Regions from separate parts of the Homo sapiens genome. Here regions 2, 3 and 4 are each linked to region 1. Evidence: promoter capture Hi-C in 16 types of primary human blood cells and fetal thymus (Javierre and others, 2016). All regions are on one chromosome and are shown on one strand. Each heading gives the region's core, a stretch centred on a gene start or on the middle of the fragment in contact. The rest is flanking DNA. Distances are from core to core; before and after follow the strand shown. Region 1 holds the start of LCA5L (lebercilin LCA5 like). Region 2 overlaps BRWD1 (bromodomain and WD repeat domain containing 1). Region 3 overlaps BRWD1 (bromodomain and WD repeat domain containing 1). Region 4 overlaps BRWD1 (bromodomain and WD repeat domain containing 1).

Region 1 (7,495 bases), core at 3,589-6,088:
TCTCTCTCTGTTCTCCGGCTCCCTTTTTAAAATCCCCTGCTGCCCATCATGGATTGGGTGGCACCGACGTTCCGAAGCAGAGAGGAATCTCCCAGGCTTCTGTACTCCCTCTTCACCTGAGTCCCAGAGCCCCAGAGGCATGTTTCCCACCCCCTCAGGTAGGTGCCTGCAACGAGAAAAGACATCCCAGTCCCCGGAATATCCCAGTTCCTGGAATATCGCTTAAATGCCCCTACATCACAATGAATGATTGAGGTGACTACCAACATTTAACTTTTGGCTTCAACATGCAAAGTTAGCTGCTCCAAAAATAAGGTCCTTGATGAAGATGATTAATGGTTCCCCAAATTTAAGTCAGTAGAATTATAAATTTTATTTTAAAGCACACCAAGGATTACAGATCAGTTTTTCTTTTCTGCATTTTCAAAATTTCTACAGTACGTATTATTTTTTCATACAATTATATATTTTCACACCTTAAAGTCTGCCACATAAGCATGCCATATTTCTCCAAATATTACTTGAAGAAAGTGGGGGCATATTTTCTAATGACTTTGTAAGTTAGTAGCATAAACTATAGCTGGATTCTCAGGTGCTCTAGAGAATACGCATCTCTTGATTATATCAGGTGAAAACTGCCCTCAATAATGACACCTCCTCCATCTGCAAACCCTGGGGAGAAATTAATTTCCTACTCAAATAACAGCTAACAATTTGTAGGTGTTGTCCATGTGCCAGATCTGCTCTAGGTGCTTTGCATAAGCCACTCCCTTAACCTGTATAAGAACCCTAAAACTGTGTTCCATTATTATGCCCACTCACCATGAGGACACAGAACTAGAGATGATGGGAATAGGAAATGGCATATCCAAGACTTAAGCCTCACCCATTCCTCTCCACACCACATGAGAAGCTCCTGAGATGCTACCCTCAAATTCCTAGTGCCCCCTTTTCACTATGAATTTTTTTAAGTTTATTCTTTTCGAAATGACCATAAAAATGTACAAATTAAAAATCTGAAAACTCCAGCTGAAAGATTCCTTCTAATGTATTATTACACTAATGACACAAACGAGCTTCAACATAATTAACAGGAATAGCGAACATTCCAAATGCATCTTAAAATAAAGCTCAATGAACCCCTGACTTACAAAATCCACTTCAGAAAGAAGGTGTATAATTTAGTGAAGATGCAAGCAGCCAACCATTCAACATCTCCAGTGCTTGCTGTTTATGTCTGTTCACAAAGACCAGGAGATCCACGGAGGAAGGAAAGGAGATTTTATTTTTAGGGGGAGATACAACCTGCAGATTGGGGAATGCAGCTTACAGAAAAAACCAAAAATGCACATGCTGCAGAAGGGAGGAAGGAGCTGGTATCTGTGTCTTACAGAGTCAGCCTTACATACATACTGAGCAAGGTTGCAGAGGATCTACTAATATTTATGAGGAAATTCAGGCATGTGTGCAGTGGGTAAACATATATGTATCATACATTCCATGTTCACCTTGGGGTGGAGTTCTAGCATTAAAATGGGATGGAATTTGGCTCTTTATATCAACAGGTGAACTATAGGGCACAAAGACATTTTATGTGCAATTTCTATAAGCTGGCCAAAATTGGCTGGAGGTCTGCAGCTGTTTATCAATAAAGAATGTTTATAAGACCAGTCCTTTGTCCAACTGGAGTTGTAGTAGGTCTGCAAGGCGTTTGGGGGTGGGGGCGCATACTGAGGGAGGGAATGTTTCCATTGGCTGGCATCAGGCAGTCTATCGGGGTCAGTTGGAAATTTTCCAGCTGAAGTTGTGTTGGCTATGCTTTTTCGAAGCTGGTTTCTGCTTACTTAATAGCAGTTAATAATGCAAAAATACGTAACTAACCCCTCATCCTTCTGGCTGTGACATTCTGGAGGTTTTGTTTTGTTTTGTTGTTTGTTTTTTGTTTGTTTCTGTCACCAGGCTGGAGTGCAGTGGCTTGATCTCAGCTCATTGCAACCTCCACCTCCCACATTCATCTCCTGCCTCAGCCTCCCGAGTAGGACATTCTGTTTTTGGTGCATCTCATTTTAGGAAACAGGAGTTCATTTTGTCCGTCTGTTGGAGTATATTTTAACAAGTCAAATAACATCACTTTTTGATTTGATTAATTTTGATTTAAAGACATGAGGTACTGGGCTACAAACTTCATAGAGACCCCCAGATGATCTCATGATAAATGATACCAGATGATATGTTTTGATTTACATAACTTTACAGATAACTTAAAATGACAAATAAAGACACGTCTTTATTATGTAGAATGATGGAAATGATTACCATAATAACTGTAGTGGGTTGAATATTGTTCACCAAAATTCATGTTCAGCCAAACCTCAGCATGTAACCTTATTTGGAAATAGAGTCTTTACAGATGTAATCAGTTGAGGGGGTCTTGTGATTAAATCATCCTGGATTTAGGGTGGGCCCTAAGTCCAATGACTGGTTGTCCTTATAAGAAGACAAGACAGGGAGACACAGAGAAGAACACCCTGTGAAGATGGAAGCAGAAATTGGAGTGGTGCTGCCACAAGCCAAGGAATAGCAGGAGTCCCCATAAGCTGGAAGACTCAAAAAATTCTCCCTAAGAGCCTTCAGAGGAAACATGGACTTTCAGACAACTTGGTTTCATACTTCTGACCTCCAGAAATGTGAGAAGATAAAGTTCTATTGTTCTAAGCCCCTAAGTTCGTGGTAGTCTGTTATGACATCCCTAGGAACCTAGGAACCTAATATAGAGAAATAAAGGCTATGCTTTTTATGTGGCATGATGGAGATGGCCCCAGAATAGTGAAAGGCCATGGCTCTTCTCCTTCCATTGTGTACACAGAAAAGAACACCCCTTCGAAAGCAAAAGCAAAGGCCAGGCACGGTGGCTTATGCCTGAAATCCCAACATTTTGGGAGGCCGAGGCGGGCAGATCACTTGAGGTCAGGAGTTCAAGGCCAGCCTAGCCAACATCGCAAAACCCCATCTCTACTAAAAATACAAAAAGAATTAGCCGGGTGTTGTGACTCACACCTGTAATCCCAGCTACTCAGGAGGCTGATGCAGGAGAATCACCTGAACCCAGGAAGCGGAGGTTGTGGTGAGCTGGGATGGCGCCACTGCATTCCAGCCTGAGCGATAGAGTGATACGTCTCAAAAAAAAAAAAAAAAAAAAGCAAAAGCGAAAGCAAAGAAAGATTCAAGGGCAGATTTGCAGTGACTTATCATGTCTACAGACTGGGAAAAGCTGGTAGAAAAGAGGAGGAAACCATTCTCAGGAAACTCTACCTTTCAATTCCTCCAGTCATGAGCTCCAGGGTTGGATGCTCCCGCAATGGCAAAACTCCGCTCTCGTTACTGTCATGGGGCCACCACCACCCACCAAGCATCAGCCCATCTTTCCATAATGTCAAGTCTAGAGTGACATTTGTCTAATGTTTGCCTACCTGGAGATGTTGCCCCGCCCACCACCACCAGCAAAAACAACCGGCACCCATCTTATACGGATAATTCCCTACCTAAGGAGTTCTAGAAATGCATGGCCCACCAAAACTCAGGGTGGGTCATGCATTTCTAGAGGAAGAAATGGTGATATGGAGAGAAAGCTTGTCCTAACCCACTTCTACCAAAGTAGGATTAAAGTCAATTTGAAAAAAAACACCCGTTTCTCCTTTTATATAAAAACCAAATGCAGAAACTATAGAGAAATGTAATAAGCTTGACTCTACACAAATACCAAAATACACTGTAAACAAAATTAAAGGTAACTGACAAATTGAGGAAATATTTGCAACGTATATCACAAGCCAAGTTTTCAAGCATCAAAAGTCCTTACAAAACCCATTTTTACAAAGATGAATGTCAAGTTTTAAAATGGACAAAAGACAGGAAAATGCAAATCACACAATAAGGACAAATGGCACTCAAGATATGGGAAAAAGTCTATTCTTCCTACTAAAAAGGAAGTGAATACAATTAAAGATGCCAATTTTTGACAATAAAATGGGCAAAAAAATTTTAAGAAAAAAGAGAATTTCCAATGCGGGCCAAGTATCGGGACACTTACTGGAAGGCAGTTTCCCTCTACCTTTAGAAAGCCTCAAAGTGAGCATATGCTTTGGCCCTGCAACCTCGCTTGTAGGAATTTATCCTAAGGAAACAGTCAGGGGTGACCTCAAAGATTCATCTGCAAGGATATTCAACATGGCTTTGATGCAGGAAAAAAAGTAAATAAATAAAAGGAAACAATGTAAGTCTTCCTAAATTATGCCAAATTCCTATGCTGTCATTAAAAAACATCTATAACTCCATCATCTAGGTGATTTTGACTTTTGCTTTGGACTTGCCTGTACATTTCTAAATTCTCTATGCCAAACATGCATTGTTTTGTCATCAGATTTTGTTTTACAAAAAAAAAAAAAAAATCGTCTTTATGACAAGGGGTTAATAGGGGAACTGTGCTTCCCAGGAATTGACCAGGCGTCTACACCCACCTACTGACTCAAGTTACCTAAGACTGACAGAGCCTTAAGAGGTCAGGAGAGCGCCAGAGCGCGTGACAGGCTCCCTCGTCTCGGTGCGGCCACGCGGGAAGGCAGGGTCCCGGGCGCCGAACAGGGACGGCAGGAGGATCGTTTACAGACGTCTACACAAGAAACTCACTTCCCGTCACCGAAGACAAACGCGAGGCCACACTGACCTCCAGGCCCAAGACGCCCCTCCCCGCCGCGGCTCCTGCTGCCCGAGTGCGCATGCGCGCGCCCAGCCCCCGCAGGCCGGCGCTTCCCAGGAGGCCCCGCGCGCGGGTTTCCATGGGGACGCGCCGGCGCTGCGGCGTTGGCGCAGTCGTGGGAACAGCGCGGAGCAGGTAACGGCCCCGCTGCTGCCGTCGTCCCCCTCAGCCGGTTACCCTGTTACAGCCCCAGCTCTGGGCCCTTCCGGACCCTCCTGCTACGCTCTTTCTGGGCTTCCAGTATCGCCGGTCACTCAGTCCTCGCCCCTGCCTGCCTCGCTGGCGCCCCGCCGTTTCCTCCTCGCGGCACAGTTTGCCAAGGAACAGCTACCCCGGCTCGGCAGTGACCGGGCGCCCCGGCGACACACGTACTCTCAGGCCCGCTGGGCAGGGGGACGGCCTGGGCCGAGGTGACCTAGCGCTCCCGGGGCCGCGCCTGGGTCTGGCGAGGGGGCGGAGGCCGATCTCACCGCCGCCCCACCGAGGGAACTTTGGGGTTTTTCTATCTGAATCTTCTATCTGACCTCCGATTTTGCCTCTGCTTACTTGCTGTTTTGCTTTGGATTAGTTTTTCTTTCTAACCTTAGCGCTGGCATCTCCCTATCTCGTAGGAATCTAAATCTTTTGAAATGTCTTCTCTGTCTGTGTTTGTCCCCCACTCACCCAGCCTCGGGGCTCTTTATCCACACCCTCCCCTCAGCGTGTTAACGTTTCGTTGCCACACTTAAGCCAACGGTTAACTTTTTTCAGAGACCAGTTTTCACGGCTGAATGTGAGCTTGAGCCTTTTTTCTGTCTACACTCAATCCCTAGATGAACTCATCCAGTCGCCTGTACTCAGAGCCTATCTGAATTCCAGTGAGCCCCAAGTGTGCATTCCCAGCCCTCGCCCCTCCCCTGAACACCAGATCCCTGCATTTAGCTGCCTGCCACATCCCTACTTGGATGTCTACGGCATCTCAAACACAGCTCGTCCAAGATAGCGCTCAATAATTCCCCAAGCCAAGCCTGTCCTCCCACAATCTTAATCCATCATAGTTGCTGGAAATTCCATCCTCCAGTTGCCCGAGTCTTGCATCCTGTTTGAGTCCTGTTTTTCTCTTCCTCACCTTCAGTCTGTCAGCACTGCCTTCAAAATGCACCCAGAATAGATTCACAATTCTACCATTTCTCTCAACCGCCACTGTCACCACCTTGGTCCAGGCCCCCATCATCTGGTGCGTGGATTATTTTACTTGCTTCCTAATTGGTTTCCCTGAGTCTGCCCCTCCCCCACTTGAGCATGACAGTCTTAATGGTATTTCCCCGTTCTCTGTTATTTCGTATGAGTAAGTTTTTTAAAGGATTATATAAATTACAATTTCCTTATATAAATTACAACTTCCATAGGTAAAAGTGCAGTATTTTCAGTATGTATTTTGCAAATTGCAACTTTTAAACCGGGTCAGCAAGGCCATATAAGCATCCTGCTAACAAGCTAAAAATGTAAAGACACCCCTTAGCTTTGTTAGGTATAAATATGACAGTGCCCCTGGAACAGAACTATGGCAAGAGCTTTACAAGGGACTGTCCTGAAGAACAAAAGAACCCAGAGCCTTCTTCCCAGCGCAAAGACAGGAATCATGTAGGAGTTTAAGCTCTTCCTTTTTTATTTTTTAGAGAAGCACCAAAAGAGGCAAACTGAGATGCAGACAAATGATCATCCGTATGCTGATCATTTTGAATAGTAAGTACCTGGGTGCTGATACCGCGATCAATGTGACAGGTCCCTGCCCTCAAGGAGCTAAGGCCCCTAGCCAATCTCTCTTTTTTTGTTGTTTTTTTTTTTTTTAAGACAGAGCCTTACTCTGTCGGCCAGGCTGGAGTGCAGTGGCAAGATCTCGGCTCACTGCAACCTCCATCTCTGGGCTCAAGCAATTCTCCTGCCTCGGCCTGAGTAGCTGGGATTACAGGTGTACGCCACCATGCCCAGCTAATTTTTGTATTTTTAGTAGAGATGGGGTTTCACCATGTTGGCCAGGCTGGTCTCAAACTCCTGACCTCAGGTAATCTGCCTGCCTCGGCCTTCCAAAGTGCTGGGATTAAAGGCGTGAGCCACTGCGCCCGGCCCTACCCTTGCCACTCTCTTAAACTCCTAGCCCCATCTTTTCTCTTTTGCCATCAGGTAAAACCCCAATTAACCAAAGTAACAGAGTAGGATTGCCACGGTTAGCTGAGGGTCTGTAGGAGATTGCATTTCATAAATGACCATTTTCCTCAGATTTGATCTCCCACCACGCCCTTGTGCTGTCACTTCATAGAGAAGCTTGAAGCTGTCACATGGGAATCCCCTCATTCTTCAGCTCCCAAAACTGCAAGCCTTACTTATATCTGTTCCTACCTTCCTTCCTCCTCCTAACCAAGGCCACTCCCTCTCCGTGCTTTGGATCCCATCGCTTTCCACTCGCCAAAAACTCTACCCTGTCAGGTATACATTCCCTCTCCTGTATGATCACCTGTTCCATCTCAGCTGGCTCTTTGCCATGGTTTTGAAGCATGTTCAAGTCTCCCATCACAAAAGAGAAAAAAAGAATCTTCTTTGACCCCACGTTCCCCTTCAGTTTCCAGTTATTGTCCAATCCCTTATCCCTTTCGACAGGCAAACTTTAAAGAACTGCCATATTCAATGCCTCTATTATTTGTCTCTCACTCCTCAGCCAGTATGGCTTCCCTCTTCATCTCTGCTAAAACAAAAACCAGG
Region 2 (7,495 bases), core at 3,083-5,582, 240 kb after region 1:
TTCAGTCTCTCTCTGACTCTGACCTTTCTGCCTCCCTCTTATAATAACTTTTGTGGCTATACTGGGTCCAAGCAATCAATTCAAGATAATCTTTCATCTCAAGGTCTATACCCTTAATGCAAAATACCTTTTCTCATGTAAGGCAACATAGTCATAGGTTATGAGGATTATGATGTGGACATCTTTGGTGGGGCCATTATTCTGCCTATCATATTATCAGATGTGCTTCATATTCTGCGAAAACAAATATTATAAACCTGGGAGGTGAGAGGTCATGGAATAGCCTTTCACTAGATAATGTGCTCTTGTTAGAGTATGCTTTTCATAGCTAACTTTGTAATATTTCTGAAATTGGTTAAGTTATATGAAAATAACTTACGTTTCATGCATAGTTTAAAAATTTCATTTCTGGAAAAATGTGTTGAGAGCAACATATATGACATTATTGTATTTTTATAGAAGACAGTAGATCAGTTACATTTTTACCACAGTCTTACACCAATAGTGTGATTTTTCTTAAGACTGTGAATGTATTTTTAGGTCCATGATGGGAAAAAAAGCATCAGAGCTACGAACTATGTTGAAAGCAACTGGAAGAAACAGTGTAAGGAACTAGTGAACTTAATTTTTCAGTGTGAAGATTCTGAACCATTTAGACAACCTGTTGATTTGGTTGAATATCCAGTAAGTTTCCATTGTTTAAATGTTTGGGGCTTTTCTTGTTTTGCAGTGAGGAAACTGGGGTAGAGTTATTAAACTTTAAAGAGAAAGATACCCAGGCTTTATGTTAACTTTTTTGCTCCTATCACTAAGTTAGTGGTAGAAGTATTGTTTTTACATAGTTTTCTTCAATTTATAGACACCCTTGTGAGCTCATTTAAGAATTTAGACTTAGATAATCAGTATTACATAACAGTGGGATGGATCTACTTAGATTTCTATCTAAGTAGGCCCAGCACTAGGAGAACTGTGAATTGGATAAACGTGTCTGTTTGCACTCTTTAAAAAGGGAAATTGAAAGATGACTTTATAAAAAAAGTTGGATTATAACAGCACAGAGTGACTGTAGGATGCTTGGAGTACATACAGCAGGAAATAAAACCATCCCATGTGTCACTAACAATAAATAGACATTAACATTTTGGTATATTTCTATCTTTTCTTTGTTTTTATACCTCTTTTTAAACATTACTAATGAATTTTAAGAGTCCTCTAACCTTTTCCTCTCTTCCATCATTTCACATTTTTTAGAGATCTGATGCATTTACATTTCTAAAAGCAAGAAATGAATCTATGAATTAAATATTGTGTTTAAAACCTAGGACTACAGAGATATTATAGATACCCCAATGGATTTTGGAACAGTAAGGGAAACTCTAGATGCGGGAAATTATGACAGCCCTTTGGAGTTTTGCAAAGACATCCGGCTGATATTTAGCAATGCAAAAGCGTATACACCAAACAAAAGATCAAAGGTAATTTTTTATGTGGTTTATTGAAAAAAACTGCCTGATCTGTGTAGATAATTTTCCAATGTAATAGTAATTTTTTCCAGTGTAATTTTCCACTGTGTAATAGAGGTTAGAACATTAAAGATAAGTGAATAAATTAAGACTATTATAAAGAAAAGAGCTTCTGCTACTGCTCATATAGCTTCAGTTTTTGCCTTTCATCAGTTGATGTTTATCATAATCTCCTCAAATTTTATAAGCAAGTGGGGATTAATGGGAGTAGGCATCAATAGAAAGTGAACAAATTTGATACACAGAGTAAGAGTCTCTGTGTTTTGTATGTATAAGGATCTTAAGTGGATTGGAAACATAGATCGAGACTGTAAGAATATTAAAAGTAAAAAGGAAAATCTGATTGTGAGACTGCTGACAGCATAAGAACATTTGGATTTGAAGAAGGAACACATGAGCTATCAGATTAAGACCACAAATAATGTTACAGAGCCAGTGGAGGCTCTTTGCTTGATGTGTTAGAAGCTAATATTATGACACAGGGTTTTTCTTTTTCTTTTTTTTTTTTTTCTAGCCTACTCAAGTGAAGTGGTGACACTGGGTTTTTGAGAATAAGCTTTATATTGAAAGTTGACTCCTAAGGAGACAGGAGTGAATTTCAAATCTGACTCCGGTGCTGGCTTTAAAGCAGTATTTTTATTTTTTATTTTTTTTTAAAGAAAAGGTTCAGGGCATGGATTCTGAGATTAGCAGGTGATTAATGGAAGGAAAGGAGAGGTCTGGAAAGTCTTTGGGCATGTATAGTTATTTCTTTATGTTATCTGATGGGTTGCGTGTGCAAATTTGGGGGAAGTTAGTGTGAAGCATGCTGGAAATTCAGGCTCTGATGTCAGCAGGCTCATTCTTTGCAGACTCCACTTGGCCATACTGGTTTTAACCAGTTTCAGCCAGTTCTTCTTATCTCATAAGCAGAGGGAGTTTTAGTGTTTTATAGTAGGTTGGGTTTCTTTCTTTCTTTTTTTTTTTTTGTCATTTTGTAAACTTAAGAATTTTTGTTAATTGACTTCTTTAACTCTTTGGGGCATGCAGTTTCAGTAGAAGGTTACTAAAGTTTTGTTAACATGTTACACATTGGGTAACTTTTCAAAACTTGATGAGGCCTGTAATCCCTGGAATTTGGGAGGCCAAGGTAGGCAGATCACTTGAGGTCAGGAGTTCGAGACCAGCCTGGTCAACATGGTGAGCCCCCTTCTCTACTAGAGATAAAAAAATTAGCCCGTGTTGGCGCTTGCCTGTAATCCCACCTATAGGCACGAGGCATGAGAACCGCTTGAAATGAGGCATGAGAGCCACTTGAACCTGGGAGGCAGAGGTTGCAGTGAGCTGAGATCATGCCACTGCACTCTAGCCTGGGCAACAGAGCAAGACTCCAGGTAGCTCATGTGTTGAATAATTGTAAAAAGTCATATTTAAAGTAAAATACTTGTTTGATCTTACAACATTTTTTGGTGTCTACAATCAGTGACATTTAACTGTTTTGCTTTAACTGCATTTCCCTGTCATTACTTAATATTAGACTCCTCCTGCATTACTGCCTCTGGTCTCAATTTGAGAACTCTTTCTTGGATTCAGGATCCACACTGCTTGCTGGATCAGTTTAACGTTCAAGGCTAACGTTTCCAAGCTTGGATTTTTGTCAAAGTCACCATTTGTAAGACTGTTTTTTTTCAGCGACAAAATAAATTTCATTCAAGTCTTCCCTGCGCCCCTCAAATACATGTTTGAGGACACATACCATACAGTTCACCATTGAAAGCTTATAGTTCAGTGGTTTTTGGTATAGTACATTGTCAGTTGTTCAAAACTATGGTTAACTATATATAACATAACATTTGCCATTTTAGCCATTTTTATGAGTACAATTCAGTGGCATCGTTTATAATCTTTCTAAAACCTTTTCATCATTCCACACAGAAGCTCTGTAACCATCAAGCAGTAATTTCCCCTCACCCCCAGTCCTTGGAAACCTCTAACTTTCGGTGTCTGAATTTGCCTGTCCTAGATAATTTCATATAAAAATTGAGATCTTACCATATTTGTCCTTTGTGTCCAGCTTATTTATTTCACTTAGTGTAATGCCTTAAAGGCTTATGCATGTTGTAGCATGTATCAGAACTTTATTCCATTTTATGGCTGAATAATATTAAAGTGTGTGGTTATACCATATCTTATTCATTCATCTATCGATGGCCAGCTCGGCTGTTTCTATTTCTTGACCATTACGAGTAATGCTGCAGCAAATTTTGGAATACACGTATCTCTCAGAAACCCTGCTCAATTCCCTTGGGTATAGACCTAAGAGTAGAATTGCTGGGTCATGGGATAATTCATGTTTACCTTTTCCAGGAACCACTACACTGTTTTCCATATTGGCTGCACCTTTTTACATTCCCGCTGGCAGTGTATAAAAGCCACAGTTTGTTCACATCCTTGCCAACACTTGTTGTTTTTGGAGTTTTGTTTGTGTGTGTGTGTGTGTGTGTGTGTGTGTGTGTTTTCTTTTTTTTCTTTTTTTTTTTTGAGCCTGTCTCACTCTGTTGCCCAGGCTGGAGAGCAGTGGTGAGATCTTGGCTCACTGCAACCTCCAACTCCTGAGCAATTTGCCTGCTTCAGCCTCCCGGGTAGCTGGGACTACAGGCTTGCGCCACCATGCCCGGCTAATTATTGTATTTTTAGTAGAGATGGGGTTTCACCATATTGGCCAAGCTAGTCTTGAACCCTTGACCTCAAGTGATCTGCCTGCCTCGGCCTCCCAAAGTACTGGGATTATAGGCATGAGCCACTGTGCCTGGCAGAATAAAATTTATATATATGAAATACTGAAAATAACTGTCAAAGATCATTTCAGATTAAGTATAACAAATTTCACATTCATTTGTGAGCATATATATATGTATATGAGAAGCATGTAAGAAATTCGTATATCTCACATACTTTTTAAAAAAGTTTTCTGGTATTGGAGTGTCTTCGCCATCCACTGCCATGCACAAGAATTATATTTAAGTTTTGAGCATTAGACTTTTGCACTTATTTTCAGGAAAAGTCGTGGAGGAGGATAGAGTAGTTCTGTACATACATAGCTGTATCCAAAAGTATTTAAGATTTGATGTTATTTAATTGTAAACATTGTTAAAACAAATCTTTCATATGCATTAACGTTCTAGGTTATACTTTCTGCTACTGGATGCAAGGTATTTTTGTTTCATTTTTAGAATTAGGTGGCATTGAAAACAGATTGCAGACAGAGATGGGTATATAAAAGTGCTTTTGTTCCCTTGCCCCAAAGAAAGACAGCGCTTTTGTAGCCTAAATAGCAGCCTTAAAACCATTCAACTTCCCATCTAACTTTGGGAGAAGGGTATATTTTGGGGTTTGTACATACAGATGTTAGAATAGGCAAAAACAGTTGAGATTCACTGACATATAGACACAAGTCCTGAATATAGATGCTTGACTTCAAACTACTTTCTTATCATCTGAGAGGTATGTATTTGATACTTCTTACTTCCAGATGTCATTAAGGGAAGGGGGTTGGAAACAGAAGAAGTGGGTGACAGCCATTACCTATAAGCAGTGATATAATACATTGCAAGGGATCTCAATGATTACAATTATTTCTTAAGTACTTTTAAGGCTATTTTGTAATTCTACTTTGTTTTTATATCCTTGCAGATTTATAGTATGACCTTGAGATTATCTGCCTTATTTGAAGAAAAAATGAAGAAAATCTCTTCTGATTTTAAAATTGGTCAAAAATTCAATGAAAAACTTCGAAGAAGCCAGAGGTTCAAGCAACGGCAAAATTGTAAAGGTGACAGTCAGCCTAACAAAAGTATCAGGTAAACTGGTTATGGCAAGCTTGCTTTATTTATTTATTTAATTTTGGAGAGAGTCTCACTGTGTCACCCAGGCTGGAGTGCAGTGGCATGATCTCTGCCTCCCGGGTTCAAGTGATTTTCCTGCCTCAGCCTCCCAAGTAGCTGGGACTACAGGCGCACACCATCACATCTGGCTAATTTTTGTATGTTTAGAAGAGACAGGGTTTCACCATGTTGGCCACGCTGGTCTCGAACTCCTGACCGCAGGTGATCCACCCACCTTGGCCTCCCACAATGTTGGGATTACAGGTGTGAGCCACCACGCCCAGCCTATTTATTTATTTTTTATTTATTTTTGGAGACGGAGTCTCTCTCTGTTACCTAGGTTGGAGTGCAGTGGCATGATCTTGGCTGACTGCAACCTCTGCCTCCCGGGTCAAGCAGTTCTCCTGCCTCAGCCTCCTGAGTAGTTGGGACTACAGGTACATGCTGCCATGCCTGGCTAATTTTTTGTATTTTAGTAGAGACAGGGTTTCACCGTGTTGCCCAGGCTGGTCTCGAACTCCTGAGCTCAGGCAATCCGCCTGCCTCAGCCTCCTAAAGTGCTAGGATTGCAGGTGTGAGCCACCGCGCTCAGCCCTATTTATTTTTTAAGACAGGGTTTCACTATGTTGCCCAGGCTGGGGTCTAGTGATATGATCATGACCACTGCAGCTGCAACTTTCTGGTCTCAAGCAGTCCCTCTCACCTCAGCTTCCCGAGTAGTTGGGATAACAGGGGTGTGTCACCAAGCCTGGCTAATTTTTAAAAATTATTTTTTGTATAGATGGGGTCTTGCTATGGTGCCCACGCTGGTCTTGAACTCCTGGGATCAAGATCCTTCCACCTTGGCCTCCCAATATGTTGGGATTACAGGCGTGAGCCACTGCGCCCAGCCTGTATGCATTTTTTTAAAAATTTAAGACTGTGTTATTTAATCTTTAGAGTACTGTACATTCTGAAAAGACTAGTCATGGGTTTTATAGCTTGAAAGCATTTCTGTGAATATAGAGCTGTTGTATTGGTTTGTAATTCTATAAATATGTAAAATTATAGATTTTTTCAAATCTTATTAAGGATTATTTAAAGTGTCATTTGTATTTTGCATAAGAATTGGCTCTTTAATATAGAGTCGGAGTCCCCAGCACCTGCTCCCTGTGTAGACTGGGCCACACAGTAGGATGTGATTGGCTGGCAAACAAGCATTACCACCTGAGTTCTGTCTGCTGTCAGATCCGTGGGGGCATTCGATTTTCATAGGAGCAGGAACCTTTTTGTAACTGCATGCGAGGGATCCAGGTTGTGTGCTCCTTATGAGGATCTAATGCCTGATGATCTGAGGTGGAACAGTTTTGTCTTGAACTCTGCCCACTCACTGGCCCCAGTCCCAGTCCATGGAAAAACTGTCTTCCACAAAACCGGTCCCTGGTGCCAGAAAGCTTGGGGACTGCTATGTAGAGAATAATGTGATTTTTATGTATGGTCTTTTGAGCATTTGATTGTGTAAGGGAAAATGTACCCTTGATACAATGTACCTCAGTATTACTGAGGATTATTTGTAAAGAAATGTAAAATGAAGGATTTATTAACTTTCTCAGTAATTGTATATTAATTTACATTCTATATTCTTTGACTATGTAGTTTAGATTAATATCACATTTATAGGTACTTTATGTTGTTACAGTATAAAAATTGAGTTGTGCAATGTTTAGTTTGTTTCCATTTATATTTTCAACTGTGCAGTATATCCCTTGATGGGATTTCCTTGTGGTTGCTCTGGGGACTACACTATGCATCTCAATCTATTGCAAACAATCGATTTTATATTAATACTATTTTTATTACAGTACATATAGGAACTTGGCTCTAGTATAGCTTCCTTCCATCCCCTTCCTAGGTGGTGGTGGTATCAGATCACTTTTTTTTTTTTTTTTTTGAGATGGAGTTTTGCTCTTGTTGTCCAGGCTGGAGTGTGTTGTTGTGCTATCTGTTTTCTGTGCCCTCTCCATCTCCGGTTTTCGCGCTTTTTTTGTGTCTGCGTCTCGCGTGTCTGTGGTTTTAGGGGCCCGCGCCCCCGCGCCGATGTTTTTTTTTGTTTTTTTTGTAGACGGGGTT
Region 3 (7,495 bases), core at 2,652-5,151, 220 kb after region 1:
GAATTTGCGGAGGATGACTCCAGCAGAGCTTGCAAATATGGAGCATTTATATGAATTTCACCCTCCAGTTTGGATTACTGACACCACACTTAGAAAATCTCCTTTTGTTCCTCAAATGGGTGATGAGGTGAGAGTAATACAAATTTAAAAACACGAATATGGAACATAAAGTTTATATTGCTCTTAATTTTTAAATGCATATTTCCCTTTTGTAGGTAATATATTTTCGACAGGGTCATGAAGCTTATATTGAGGCTGTAAGAAGAAATAATATTTATGAACTGAACCCTAATAAGGAGCCATGGAGAAAAATGGATCTTAGGGTAGGATGATGGCATTATTAAATCATTAAACATTTTAGCACATACATAGTTAAATTACTTACAAATCTATTTAAAAACCTGTTGGAAACATATTTTATTACTTTCTTTCCTACTTGATAACATTTCTGCTGTAACCAAACCTTAAGATCCTGTGGGAATGGCTTGTTTGTCAGTGGGCAAAATTTGTATGTTGCTGATTGGTGTGTAAAATGTTAAATGCAACAACCTAGAGTTTCAGAAAGGCAGCTTGGCAATATATATATTATCACTCTTAAAAATGTTTATGTATCCAAGACAGATTTTCAGAGGAAGAAATGCAAGTTTTCAAAAGAAGAAATAAAAACTGGAAGAAGGGTTTAACCTCATGGATAATAAAATAAGGAAATAATAATTTTTCCTTTTCAATACTTAGCCAATTTTGTGATTTCGTTTGTTTTTAGCTCAAGAAAGAATTCCACATTTTAGCAAGTGGCAAAGATGTTGGTTTGTTAACAGTTATTCAGATTGCTGGTGGGGTGTGTGAAGTGGTCCAGGCTTTCTAGGGGATATTTTGTTAATAGTAGTTGAAACTGAAAAATATTTGGAACTTTTAATTCTGTGATTTTACTCTTCTGGTAATTTGGAAAACAAGCAGAAATGCTTGTAAATATATGAGTATTGTAGTTCACTCACTGTTGACAGAAACAAAGCTGGAAAAAAAAAATTCAGATATTCCACAATAGTGAATGAACCAAATCATGGTGCATTCACACAGTCACTTACTATGTACAGCCCATCTTGTACTTGAAGGTTGAAAAATATTTGTTGAATGAATGATGGATACATTTTCACAGTGTATTACTAATAGGAAAAATGGGGTGTGAAGTGGTATTTCTGGTTATGGTAGCAAAATTTTGAAAACATTTGCAGCCAATCAAAAGAACAACATCAAAATGTCAATGGTGATGATCTGTGGGGTAGTAGTACACGTGTTTTTTTATTTTTTATATTTTTATTCTACAGATTTTGATACTTTTAAAAACTTAGAAAATGAAGAAAATGCTAGTTATTTTAACAAATATAGCTGTTTTTAACACTTATATTCAACTTAATGGCTCTGCTTGTATAAGTTAGGCTTTATATACATTGGCGGTTTTATTTATGTCTGTTTAACTTAGGACTGTGTACCTAAGTACAGTCCATCCTCATTATTCTTGGATTCTGTATTTGTGAACTGCGTACTTGCTTTATTTGTAATCCCCCAAACAGTACTCTCAGAGCCTTTTGGTCATTTCTGGACATGCTCAGGGTGGTGAAAAATTTGACTTGCCTGACGAGCATGTTTCTAGTTGAGGTTGAACAAGGTGTTGCTCTGCCTTTTTTTTTTTTTAAGCTCTCGCACTGCAAACAAGTGTCCTTTTCATGGTCTATTCAGTGCCACATGTTTTCCATTTTTGTGCTTTTTCTGGTGACTTTGCTGTTTAAAATGGCCCCTAAGCGTAGTGCTGACATGCTCTCTAGTGTTCTTAAGTGCTAGAAGGCTGAGATGTGCCTTATGGAGAAGGTATGTTAGATAAGCTTCATTCAGGTATCAGTTAAATGTTTGCAAATCAACAACATATTAAATAAGGTACCTTTAAACGGAAACACGCATAAAACCAAGTTACGTATGCACTGGTTTACTACAGTGTTGTGACCAGAATTTTGCAGGAACCTATCCCTATATATTCTCTATAGCACTGATTTAGTATTTTATTTCAGTGTTCTAGGTGACTATAGAACATAACTGCTGTGAATAATGAAAACTATGCTTAGCACTTTGTTTGGTACATTATAATAATAACATTTGTTCAGTGAATAAGTGGATGAATGATCTGTTGTATTCCTAGTATCAGAGAAGCAGACACTGGGGGGAAGGTTGACTATGGCAAATCCATTTGATGGATACTCCATCCAGGTAGGGACTTTCACTTGTTTACCGTCCTGTCCCTACTGCCTAGAAGAGGTCATAGCATATGGTAGATTCTCAACAAATATTACTTACTGAATGTATTAGGCAGAAACTTAATATCAAGATTTTGAAGAACACTTATGAATAAGTAGAATGCTTACACATTTTCACTGTATAATATAAAGCTATATAAATAAAAATGTGCATTGACTGGGTGTGGCAGGCCACACCTATAATCCCAGCACTTTGGGAAGCTGTTGTGGGAGCATCACTTGAGCCCAGGAGTTCGAGACTAGTCTGGACAACATAGGGAGACCTGTCTCTACAAATAATAAAAAATTAGCTTGGTGTGGTGGCATGTTGTACCTGTAGTCAGTCCCAGGTACTCGGGAAGCTGATGTGGGAGGATTGATTGAGCTCAGGAGTTTGAGATTGCAGTGAGCCATGATTGTGCTACTGCCCTCCAGCCTAGGCAACATGGTGAGATCCTGTTTCCAAAACAAAGCCAGAAGGAAATATGTTAGATTTTTAACAGTGATTGTCGTTAGATATTGCGCTAATCCGAGATTTGTGTTTTCAATCTTACACTTTTGTAATGTATTTTCTAAAGGATGTTCTTTGTATTAGAAACTGTATTAAATATGTGGAGATTAACTTTAGCAAAATTGAATGTAATTAATGGTATTAATTAAACTTGTCTGCGGGTTTGGAAGCCTAAATTATGAGTTTACTTAATATAACAGTATGTGGAGAATTATAGTATTAAGGAATTGCTTTTATTTTAACCATTAAAAAATATGTCTGTTAAAGGATCAAGAATTGGTTAAAATAGTTGGAATACGATATGAAGTTGGGCCCCCTACACTCTGTTGCCTAAAACTAGCATTTATAGATCCAGCAACTGGAAAACTTATGGACAAATCTTTCTCTATTAGGTATGTATTATTTTTTAAAATGGAATTACTTAAATTTAAATTTGCCATTTTGCTGATTGAATGATTAGCATGCCCTTCCCATTTAACTCCAGGGTAACTGGTAGAGCACTGTGGATAGCCTAAGATGTGGCTCGAGCTTCTGATGGCTAGGAAACCCATCCCTGACCCTGAAGTCATAGTAGGCATGTCACAGTTATAGTTAAGTGTGGGCAGTCTGTTTTATATGGTTTTCATGCTGCTTATGTGGGTGGGGAATTCTGACATACGGGCCAAATTTTTTCTGCCCTTTGTTTTTGAAAAAATTCAGAATAAATAATTTCCTACACCTGTGCTGTCTAATAAGGTTACCACTAGTCACATGTGGCTACTGCTCACTTGAAATATGGATGGTTTGATTGAATGTCTTAATATGTGACTTGGCAGAGTATGAGGCATAAACATTTTTTTTTAAAGAAATGAATGTGTTGTGAATGTACACACTGCATTTTGAAGAGTAGTTATGAAGAAAAAATATGTCAGATCTCTATTTTGTTTTGATAACATATTGAAATAATATTTTGGATATATTTAAAATATGCTATGAAGTTTACTGTTTTACCTTTTAAAATATAGCTGGTTGAAAATTAAAAATTACATTCGTAGATCTCATGTTTCTTTTGGACAGTGCTGCTTTTAGACTATATAACCTGCTATGTAGAGAGTTTAACAATTTTTTAAATTTTTGTCTAGATATCATGATATGCCAGATGTTATTGACTTTCTTGTATTGCGTCAATTTTATGATGAAGCAAGACAGAGGAATTGGCAGTCTTGTAAGTCTATCCTTACTAAGTTTTATATACCCTTAAAAATTAATCTGTTTTATTGGTCTACCTTTTTGGCTGTGGGACTCTTAATTATAGTATATACAAACATGTAAATTCCAGAAGAGATATAAGTGACCTATAAATATATTTTGCTTACGGCTTGGTACTTACTGATTATGCAGACTTTCTTGGTAGGGGCCGGGGGACGGTGGGCATGGCACGCATTTTCTCCCTAGGTCACCCAGGCTGGAGTGCAATGGTGTGATCTCAGCTCACTGCAACCTCTGCCTCCAAAGTTCAAGCGATTCTCTTGCCTCAGCCTCCTGAGTAGCTAGGATTACAGGTGTGCGCCACTACGCCCGGCTAATTTTTGTATTTTTAGTAGAGACAGAGTTTCACCATGTTGGTCAGGCTGGACTCGAACTCCTGACCTCATGATCCACTCACCTCTGCCTCCCAAACTGCTGGGATTAGAGGTGTGAGCCACCGTGCCCAGCCCTATTATGTAGACTTTTTTAGACGAGCAACTTTTCTTCTGTTCTTTTGGTTCATGACGTTTGGAAAAGATTATTTTCACTCCTTGACTATAGGCTAGGGTAGACTTACTTCCTTTTAGACTTCCCTGTACTATATTGTATATAATTATCTTTGATGTAACATTGGCATAATTTACACAATTATACTAGGATCTAAAATGATCAGAAGGTTGAAGAGTAATTTCAGATTTCACACTGAAAATGTTCTGGTATACCCAATTATTTTACCCTTGATATCATAACAACGTAGACTTAAATGGGAAGACTTGACACTGTTTTGTTAAGAAATAAAAAATTCATATACACTTTGCTTTATAACCATGTAATGTATAGGTGGGCAGAAAAATTAAAAAATTAAAATTACCTCAATGTAATTTTACACATTCGAGTAAAATTACACATTGGAGTAATTTTAGTACCTCAATGTAGGTACTAAATTACTCGAATGTGATTTTTGTGATGATCATTTAAGGAGGGCTCACTTATTCAGAGTTGTGTAGATTATTAATCTCAGGATATAATTGATGATTGAATGACTGTCATTAGGCTGGGTAGTAATAGCAACTGTTAATAGTAACTGTAGTACCTGTTTTCACAGGTGTACAAATATATGTTCAGTGTGTAATGCTATCCAGGGAGCTTGTGTATTGAGTTAGAAGTAGGATGGTTCGTTCTTTTATCAGTTCTTGGATTTTTGTTAGAAATACTAAGTTTTACCCAGGCTGTGTCATCTGGTGTACACATTCATAAATGATGTTAAGACATTGATCTTTCTAGTTACTGCAGTTTCTTTCTTTCTTTCCTTCTTTTTTTGGACACAAGGTCTTGCTCTGTTGCCCGGGCTGAAGGGCAGTGGTGCAATCAGAGCTCACTGCAGCCTCAACTTCCTGGGCTCAAGCGATCCTCCCACCTCAGCCTCCTTTTTGGCTGTGGGACTCTTAATTATAGTGCATACAAACATGTAAATTCTGGAAGCTGCACCATGTGCAGCTAATTTTTAATTTTTTTTGTGGAGACAGGGTCTTGCTGTATTGCCCAGGCTGGTTTTGAATTCCTGGGCTCAAGCAATCCTCTTGCCTCAGCCTGCCTAAAGTGTAGGAATTACAGGTGTGAGCCACCATATCTGGCCACTGCTGCCTTTTTGTGTGGTACTACAAGAAGGTAAATTTTAGATAAAGTCCCTAATCATCCTCATCTGACGTGAAAGATTGTCAGGGCGTGTGGCTCCTCTTTATAGATTATTCTCCTGGTAACATCTACACAAGTAATCAAGATTATTTTGGGAGTAGATGCAGAGAAAATTTTTCTTGAAGAAAAACATACAGCCACAAAAATAACATGAAGCAACATTAGCAGGTTGTATAGTTGTGTTCCAAATAACTTTAAAGCTTCCCAGCTATTATGATTTTTCAGCTCCCATGAGGTGTAAGAGGCTCTCATTTTTGCCAACATGTCCATTAATTTTTTTAAAACTGAATTATCTACAGTTAAACTCTAGAGATGGAGTCCCAGATGCCTCCTGTAATTTAGTGGTTTTTGTTTTATTTTTGTGGTTGAGAAATTATTGGACCAGACCTGTTATACTACACTTTAATTCATTTTGCTTCCCCATTTTTGCGTGGAATTTGAGTAGTATGGCAAGAAGAAGTTGCTTGTTTTCATTTTTACAGTGGATTTTTATCCTTCTCTTGAAAGGCCAAAGTAGGTTTATTTGAAAAGCCTTAACATAAGATTACCAGGGTGATCAGCTAGCAAAAACATAGAAAAGACACTTTTATTATGAGAAAACTTAATTTTTTCAGGCTCCTTTTTATTTAAAGGGTTGTTTTTGTATGAAGAAATATTTTTATCTAAACTGAAATTATCTTCTAGTATTAGGTAAATAGCAAGAAAAATATACACTTAATTTTTTATATCAAAGACTCTCTTCTAACATGTTTTTATGTTTGGCCTCTCAAAATTGAGGCAGCTGATTTTATGACAATAATTTATTATTATTACATTCAGTTGTAATTAATGTTTATGTTAAATTAGGGTATTAGAGATTTGGATAAAATCATGGTGTGGTTTGTCTTAAATTGTAAGTTTAAAGCTATACTAGTCTCCTTAGATTTCTTTCAGGGGCTATGGTTTCAAGTGATTTTGAAGTAAAATATATGTAAAACTCATGTTTACATAAGTTTGAAAATATGCTAAAGACTAAAACATGTAGGTCTAGTAGTTATGGCATTATTTTTTTTCAAACCTTTGAAGAATTCACTGTAAGCATACTTTAATTATTCAAGACTGTTTGCCAGGTATATTATATTCTTTCTTGGGGATAAATTGTAGCTTTAATTTTGATTATTTCTATAAAACTTTCCTTGAGAAAAGAACTGTTGATCTATATCCCGAAGAATCATCAGTGCTGGATAGGTGACTTTTATTGTTTCATTGGTTTTGTTTTGTAAATGGTGGGAAGGGTAAGAAGGAAGAGATATGGTTACTGCAGCAGTTCATGTTTCTATTGTAATGAATGTTAAACACAGATCTAGTGCAGTTTATTTCACTGGTTGAAGTGTTAGAGTTGTAAAATACATCTAGAAATGCATTTAATCTAAAAGTTAAATTTTTTATGCCATATTTTTCTTGGTTTGTTTAGGAGCGCTGCTTGCCTGTTTTTGTATTGTGCTTTTGGCTTTTTTATCTGTATCATATGGTATTTTGTAGATTAAAAAAATGTTAATGAATGTTAGCAGAGAAATGCCTCAGACTTGATCATTTCTCTCCTAGGTGACAGATTCCGCTCTATTATTGATGATGCTTGGTGGTTTGGAACAGTGTTAAGTCAAGAGCCATATCAACCACAGTATCCTGATAGTCATTTCCAGTGTTATATTGTTAGGTTTGTATACAGATGAAAACTAATCATTTCCCAGTAATTCAGTGTGGCAGGTTGCTGTATAAATAATACATTTCTGGTTTT
Region 4 (7,495 bases), core at 1,933-4,432, 170 kb after region 1:
GGTAGCTGGGACTACAAGCATGCGCCACCATGCCTGGCTAATTTTTTATTTTATTTTATATATATGTTTATATACGTATGTGTATATGTCCATATATACGTATACGTGTATATATACATATGTACATACATATACTTATACATAGACGTATATGTTGACATATGTGTATATATACATATTTATATACATGTATTTATATGTATACATATATGTCTACATATATACACATGTATATGTATGTATACGTATATATATACATGTATACATACATACATATATATATATATTTTTTTTGGTAGGTGAAGGAGTCTTGCTGTGTTGTCCCGGCTGGAGTGCAGTGGCGCCATCTCAGCCTGCTGCAACCTTTGCCTCCCGGATTCAAGCGATTCTCCTGCCTCAGCCTCCTGAGTAGCTGGGATTATGGGCATCCGCCACCACTCCTGCCTACTTTTTATGTTACAGGCATCCAACATCATGCCCGGCTAATTTTTGTATTTTTAGTAGAGGTGGTGTTTCACCATGTTGGCCAGGCTGGCCTCAAACTTCTGACCTCAAGTGATCTGCCTGCCTTGGCCTCCCATAGTACTGGGATCACAGCCGTGTGTCATCACGCCTGGACAATTTTGTATTTTTTTGTAGAGACAGGGTTTCGCCATGTCACCTAGGCTGGTCTTGAACTCTTGGACTCAAGCAATTCTCACTCCTCGGCCCCACAAAGCGCTGGGATTACAGGCATGAGCCACAGCACTCGGGCGAGTCAGCAAGTTTTGATGCTCCTCTCTTTTGGTCTTTCCTCCCCATTCTAGGGGGAGAAGGGTGGAGCTGTATTCCAGTTAAGCTTCTTGCTTCTTAGATTAACTGGGTTCCCTCTTGGCTTTTTATTACATCTTGCCTCTTCTTTTTCAATCAATACTGTATATTGCTGTAAGACAAATCGTTTGGCTGCTTCTGGTGTTTTTACTTGAAAAGTACAGTTACCCTTTAAGCTGCTTTGATTACATCCAGATTCTCTATTCATTTACCCCATTGCCGCATGACTTTGAGAAATGAACACTTTGTTCATATAGATCTTTGTTTCTATCATATACCATATTCCCCCTCGCTTTTGAACTTGTGCTGATATTATTCCTTTGCTTAGTGTGTGTTTGTTTTCCTTGCATTTTCCTACTATTTAATCCTTCCTAGATGTCTCTAGCTAGTTCATCTTCCTTTCTGTAGCTTGCTTGTTTAGCACTTTTGGTATTTTATTAAGTACAGATGTTAGCCTTATTCTGAAGTTGCGCTGCAGTATAGTTCCTGTGTTTCCTTATTTTATGGCTTTGTTTTCAAAATATTTAAATCATTGACCCATTTCGAATGTATCCTGATGTAGTCTGAAGAATGGACTTAGTTTTTTTCCAGATTACTGCACAATTGTAATACCATTTATGCAGTGATCCATTGTTCGCCCAACAGATTTGAGATAATACCTTAATTGTACTTAAGTCTTAGATTAGGATTCATGTTTTCTCCCATTTTTCCTTCCAGTTTTTCAGTCAGCTTTCCCAGGTTGAATAGGGTCTAGTTTTGGATTGTATTTTTTCCATTGGTCATTCTATCAGTGTACCCTGTTTTGTCTGATCATTTTAATTATTAACACTCTGTGATATGCTTTAATATCTAGTAGGACTAGATCTCCACCTTGTTAAAGTTTTTCTGGCCAGTCTTGTTCATTCTGAAAATAGGCTTATTGAGATCATATTACATATAAATGAATGTGGAGAGGTTATGATTTTTTCACTACGGTAGTATTACCTATATTTTGGATTTCATGTGTTTATTTCCTGAAACTGTCAATTGAAGTTAAGTTTGCAAGACTATTAAACTGTAACTTAAGTAGAAGTTCTGGAAACTGAATTGTATATGTTTTACTTTTTAGTTTAGCCCGATGGCCAAAGGCTCTCAAAGATACATGGTTTCCACTGGTGCTGATGGGACAGTTTGCTTTTGGCAATGGGATTTAGAATCCTTAAAATTTAGGTAAGTGGCTTTAATTATGTAACAGGTTTTGTTTTTTAATGTAGTTACAGTTTAATCTAATGAAATGAAGTTTTATTGTTATGAGAAATTGTGTATTGTTGCTTTTTTTTAACCTTTGAACTTAATTTTTATTATATACAGCATATGTGCCATATTGACTATTTCCTATTTATAATTATGTAGATAGCAGGATTTGTAAAAGAAGCATAGCTTTTCTATCTTAGCACATTTTTGCAAAGACAAAGTAAGGCATTTAAAATAATAGGTATATAATTGGAAATTCAGGCAGGAACATTTGAGAGTCATAAGACCTGTATTGTATACCTGTGCTGTCTAATACAGTAGTCACTAGCCATATATGATCGTTGAGCACTTTAAATGTGGCTAGTGCAATTGAGGAACTGAATTGATAATTTAAATTTAAAACTTACAATTGATTAATGTATTAAAACATTTTTTTTCCTTTTGTTTTCGTTTTCTTTTTTTTTTTCTTTTTTTTTTTTTTTTTTGAGATGGAGTCTCACTCTGTTGCCCAGGCTGGAGTGTGATGGCGTGATCTCGGCTCACTGCAGCCTCTGCCTCCTGGGTTCAAGTGATTCTCCTGCCTCAGCCTCCTGAGTAGCTGGGATTACAGGTGCCCGCCACCACGTCCAGCTAATTTTTGTATTTTTAGTAGAGATGGAGTTTCACCAGGTTGGCCAGGCTAGTCTCAAACTCCTGATCTCAGGTGATCCACCCGCCTTGGCCTCCCAAAGTACTGGGATCACAGGCGTGAGCCACCACGCCTGGCCTGTTAGAAAATTAAGCATATCTTGAATAACGAGTATGTGAAATTTTCAATGAGTTTTGGGAAATCCAAATATAGATAAAATATTTTTGTTAAAAATTGAGTTGTCAAATTGAGATGTATTTTGAGTCTCAAATACACACTGGAAAATTTCAAAGACTTAATATGAAAGTATCTTATAATTTTATTGATTTGGATTACATGTTGATATTTTGGGTGTATTGGGTTAAAGGAAATATGATTAATTTGATCTTTTTATATTTTGTAAAAATACATGGAAATCTGTGGAAATATTTGATATACAATAAGGTATTATAGAAATAAGATTATAGCTGGGTGTTGTGTGCCTGTGGTCCCCAGCCACTAGGGAGGCTGAGGCTGGAGGGTCCCTTGAGCCCAAGAGTTTGTGTCTAGTGTGGGCAACATGGCGAGACCCTGTCTCTTAAAAAATTATAATATTTAAATATGCTAGATTAAAACTAATATTTTAAGCTGTGTTAATGTGGTAAAATAATCTATTTTAAAGCAGCATCTTCTTCTTTTAAAGCCCACGTCCCCTGAAGTTCACTGAAAAGCCTAGGCCAGGCGTTCAAATGCTTTGTTCTTCTTTTAGTGTTGGTAAGAACTTCTTCACATTTTTTTCTTAGTTTTTTTTTTTTAAACATCTATTAAATGACCACTTGGTTGCTAAGAACTTTTATTAGCTACATGGTAAATGACTTCTGGTGTTTATTTCATTAGGTTCAATTTATGATGTTTATTTTGTTAGCCTTGTTCTTCCAGTCCTCCAGTCTGCCTTTCTCTGATTTCTGGTAGTAATCAGTGATATAAGAGATGGCTGGTAAAAGGGAGGCTTGAGGTGTCCACACAAGTGATTCCTATGCCAGTACTATGTGTATGATAATCTAAATTTGTGATTTTCTTTGAATAGGCTAAACTGTGTATGTTTGATAGTTTAAATTTATTTCCCACACATAATATCTTGATGAAATTATTCTTTTTCAGTTTTTGTACAGTGAACTTGTGTGGTAACCTTTCTCTTTTTTCGGATAGGTCAAAGACTTTTCCCTCATAAAATCTGAAAACTTGAACAAGCTAGGGTTAGGTATGTAGAATTGTTTAGAAAGCAGAACTTCTTTTCTTAAAAATATTTTTAGAGCGCTGGTGCTTAATTGGCATTATATTGCCACCCTTAATAATACAGATGGGGAGGCCAGGCACAGTGACTCAATGCCTGTAATCCCAGTCCTTTGGGAGGCCGAGATGGGAGGATTGCTTCAGCCCAGGAATTCGAGCCCAGCCCTGGCAACATAGGGAGAACCCATCTCTAAAAAAAAACAAAACAAAAATTATCTGGGCATGGTGCACACCTGTAGTCCCAGCTACTCAGGAGACTAGGTGGGAGTATTGCTTGTGTCCAGGAGGTTGAGGCTGCAGTGAGCCATGGTCACACCACTGCACTCCAGCCTGGGCGACAGACTGAGACCATGTTCCCCGCCCCACCAGCTGGCTCACGCCTGTAATCCCAACACTTTAGGAGGCTGAGGCGGGTGGATCACCTGAGGTCAGGAGTTCGAGACCATCCTGACCAACATGGTGAGACCCCCATCTCTACTAAAAATACAAAAAATTAGCTGGGCATGCTGGTGTGCTCCTGTAATCCCAGCTACTCAGCAGGCTGAGGCAGTAGAATTACTTGAACCTGGGAGGTAGAAGTTGCAGTGAGCCGAGATCACACCATTGGGCTCCAGACTGGGCGACAGAGTGAGATTCTGTCTCAAAAAAAACAGGAGGAGATTGTGAATGTTTCCAGATTGAATTAATTTTGTTTTTTAAAGCTACAAGTTCAGCTTTATAACCTCTATATAGTGAGTCAGAAAATGTAACTGTTGAGATAAACTTAGTTTTAGGGTAAATGATCTTTCTTTTTTATATTTTAATATGGAAATTTGATTTGTTCAGGTATTTGTTATAAACTGGATGTTTAAACCTTACCATTTTTATTTCAGGTGGTATGTTTTTAGCCACAGGTAGTACTGATCATGTAATCAGAATGTATTTTTTGGGTTTTGAAGCACCCGAAAAAATCGCAGAACTTGAAAGCCACACTGTAAGCATCCACGTTTTAAAATCCTTTAGATTAATTGTTAATACTATTCCTGTTATTGCTAAGGGGCATTGTTATTGGCTCTACTTTTATTTTTAATTTTTTTTCTGTTGAACAAATGAACTGTCATTTATAACTTTTTGATGGTATTAAGTTTTAAAATATTAAATCATAGTTGCATTTCTGAGATAAGTCATTGCTTGTGAATGTTATCTTAAATTTTTGCTGAATTCTATTTGACAGTTAAAATATTGTTAGAGATGTTTGTATATTTATAAAAATGAAAATGTCTAGGTACAATATAGTTTTTGTTAATTCTATTCTAATTTTAATTTAAGCATACAAGCAATTATATTTAAAGGGGAGGTATGTCACTGGCAACTCAGATTAGCACTTGAGAGGCCTAATATTTTACAGTGGTTATTTTAGCTTTATGTTCAAAATCTTGATTATGACAGTTGATCTGGGTGGGTTAACTTTAAGTGAGCCTGTTTATCTAACCAAGCCCATGAAATAAGAATGTGATTTTAATAATGCATAGTAAGATAGAAAACTGTCAGTGTTCTGAAGTACTGGTCAGGGTTGGGCCATCTTTTCTTTTATTTGAAGCTTTTGGGAAGGCAGTCCACATCCAGAGGTTATTTGATAGATACAGATTTAAATAACTTAAAACAACAATTGAAAATGCCTTATTTTTAGCTACTTTAAAGCCTATATTTTGAGCACTTTCCACACATTTCACTTCCATATAAGTCATCTTAAACAGATGTAATTATAAATACTGCTTTAAGTTTAGAAGCAAGGCTTTTTTTCCTGTTAGATGTGCCTTTCTTTGAAATGAAAGCTGTATTTTAGTAGTCTTAGGTTTGTAGTTAGTCTTCACTTAAAATTATAAAACATGTTGAATGACAGGGCTAAGCAACACAAGTGCAAATTTTGCTTGTTAAAGCAAATAGGCTTCTAGCATTAAAACTTCATTTTTTCAAATTCACAGACCATGTAGATGATCATTTTTGTATTTGTCCTTTTCCCCCCTTTAGGATAAAGTAGATAGTATCCAATTTTGTAACAATGGTGATCGGTAAGTGTGTGTTTTGTATGTGTGTGTGTGTGTTATTAGGCAAATATAATGTGCTACATGTTAGTATAGCTAACCTGTCATTTTGTATGTATTTTTTCCCTTTATATTATTATGATTATTTATTTATTTATTTATTTTTTGAGATGGAGTTTCGCTCTCGTTGCCCAGGCTGGAGTGCAGTGGCACAATCTCGGCTCACTGCAACCTCCACCTCTTGGGTTCAAGTTAATCTTCTACCTCAGCCTCCTGAGTAGCTGGGATTACAGGCGCCTGCCACTGTGCCCGGCTAACTTTGTATTTTTAGTAGAGACGGGGTTCCTCCATGTTGGTCAGTCTGGTCTCGAACTCCCGACTTCAGGTGATCTGCCTGCCTCGCCCTCCTAAAGTGCTGGGATTACAGGCGTGAGCCACCTTGCTCAGCCATTATTTTTTATTTTTAGTTGACTAATAATTGTCTATGTTTATGGAGTAAGTACACTGTGGTGTTTTAATATATATTTACATTGTGGGATGATTAAATCAAGCCAATAAACATCTCTGCCACTTCACATACTGAGCATTTTTCTGTAGTCAGAACATCTGAAATCTACTCAGAAATTTTGAAATAATATATAATTAACTGTCACTTTGTATATTGCAGGTATTTATTAGTAAATGTATTAATTGAATGAAAAGTGTCTAGGGCAGGGGTTGGGGGAAGAACACATGAAATGTAAGTTTTTAGAATTGTAGTTTCTGCCAGCTTCTAGCGACCAAAAGTAGTTTTTCTTTGGCTAGATGTCTGATTTACTGAAAAAATTATGTGTAAGGATCATTAAATTTCTTGTTTGGGTAGTTAAAAAAAACTTTTCTAAGAAACCACCGTGATATATCCTGCAAAGAAATTATTACTTAAATCATATACTCCTTCTTTGCCTCCATTGTGTGTCAGGTCCCTTTGCTAAACTAATTGTTGAGAACTTAATTTGTTAATAGATTGATTTATTTTTACACAGTGTCCAACATGAATTAATTTGAATTAACAAGTAAGATGTTTAAAATGGAGCTATTGCTCTTATTTTCCTATACTTCAAAACTTTTTTCTGTTTTTTTTTTCTTCTTGGCATTCTTATTTAATTATTTTTTTTTGAGACGGAGTCTAGCTCTGTTGCCTAGGCTGGAGTGCAGTGGTGCAGCCTCGGCTCACTGCACTGCAACCTCCCCCTCCTGGGTTCAAGCGATTCTCCTGTCTTAGCCTCCTGAGTAGCTGCGATTACAGGCATGTGCCACCACGCCTGGCTAATTTTTGTATTTTTAGTAGAGACGGGGTTTCACCATGTTGGTCAGACTGATCTCGAACTCCTGACCTTGTGATCCACCCACCTTGGCCTCCCAAAGTGCTGGGATTACAGACATGAGCCACTGCAGGTTGCCTCTTCTCAGCATTCTTATACATTGTATTTTCAAAACTTAATCTGTTTGAAAAGCTATTGATTGAGTTTGAGGTGTGTTTTATTTCATA

The links. Contacts are between HindIII fragments. The CHiCAGO score rates a contact against its expected background, and 5 or more counts as called.
Region 2: a contact is called between a fragment that was not itself captured here and the fragment with the promoter of LCA5L in region 1, in 4 of 17 cell types (non-activated CD4 T cells, naive CD8 T cells, activated CD4 T cells and 1 more). The highest score is 6.1, in non-activated CD4 T cells.
Region 3: a contact is called between a fragment that was not itself captured here and the fragment with the promoter of LCA5L in region 1, in 2 of 17 cell types (non-activated CD4 T cells and total CD4 T cells). The highest score is 5.2, in non-activated CD4 T cells.
Region 4: a contact is called between a fragment that was not itself captured here and the fragment with the promoter of LCA5L in region 1, in 1 of 17 cell types (naive CD8 T cells). The highest score is 5.1, in naive CD8 T cells.

Annotation. Positions count from the first base shown.
Region 1 is chr21:39,443,121-39,450,615 of GRCh38, reverse strand. LCA5L (lebercilin LCA5 like) reads left to right here and starts at 4,838. Exons shown (of 11, transcript NM_152505.4): 1 at 4,838-4,891; 2 at 6,415-6,481. The region is part of intron 8 of GET1-SH3BGR (GET1-SH3BGR readthrough); the gene reads right to left. MIR6508 (microRNA 6508) reads right to left here and starts at 3,606; the gene lies at 3,547-3,606. It also overlaps a transcript of SH3BGR not described here. RefSeq lists a silencer at 4,668-4,927. The HindIII fragment of the contact is 3,319 bases long and covers 3,744-7,062 here.
Region 2 is chr21:39,203,975-39,211,469 of GRCh38, reverse strand. It overlaps BRWD1 (bromodomain and WD repeat domain containing 1), which reads left to right. Exons shown (of 41, transcript NM_033656.4): 35 at 541-684; 36 at 1,323-1,475; 37 at 5,196-5,362. Among named protein-coding and RNA genes, the nearest start is that of PSMG1, 24 kb to the right of the region's middle. The HindIII fragment of the contact is 2,102 bases long and covers 3,282-5,383 here.
Region 3 is chr21:39,225,005-39,232,499 of GRCh38, reverse strand. It overlaps BRWD1 (bromodomain and WD repeat domain containing 1), which reads left to right. Exons shown (of 41, transcript NM_033656.4): 24 at 2-127; 25 at 216-323; 26 at 3,064-3,188; 27 at 3,918-4,000; 28 at 7,303-7,414. Among named protein-coding and RNA genes, the nearest start is that of PSMG1, 45 kb to the right of the region's middle. The HindIII fragment of the contact is 4,038 bases long and covers 1,883-5,920 here.
Region 4 is chr21:39,274,672-39,282,166 of GRCh38, reverse strand. BRWD1 (bromodomain and WD repeat domain containing 1) reads left to right here. Exons shown (of 41, transcript NM_033656.4): 9 at 1,919-2,019; 10 at 3,354-3,424; 11 at 4,816-4,916; 12 at 5,954-5,994. Among named protein-coding and RNA genes, the nearest start is that of BRWD1, 35 kb to the left of the region's middle. The HindIII fragment of the contact is 4,684 bases long and covers 841-5,524 here.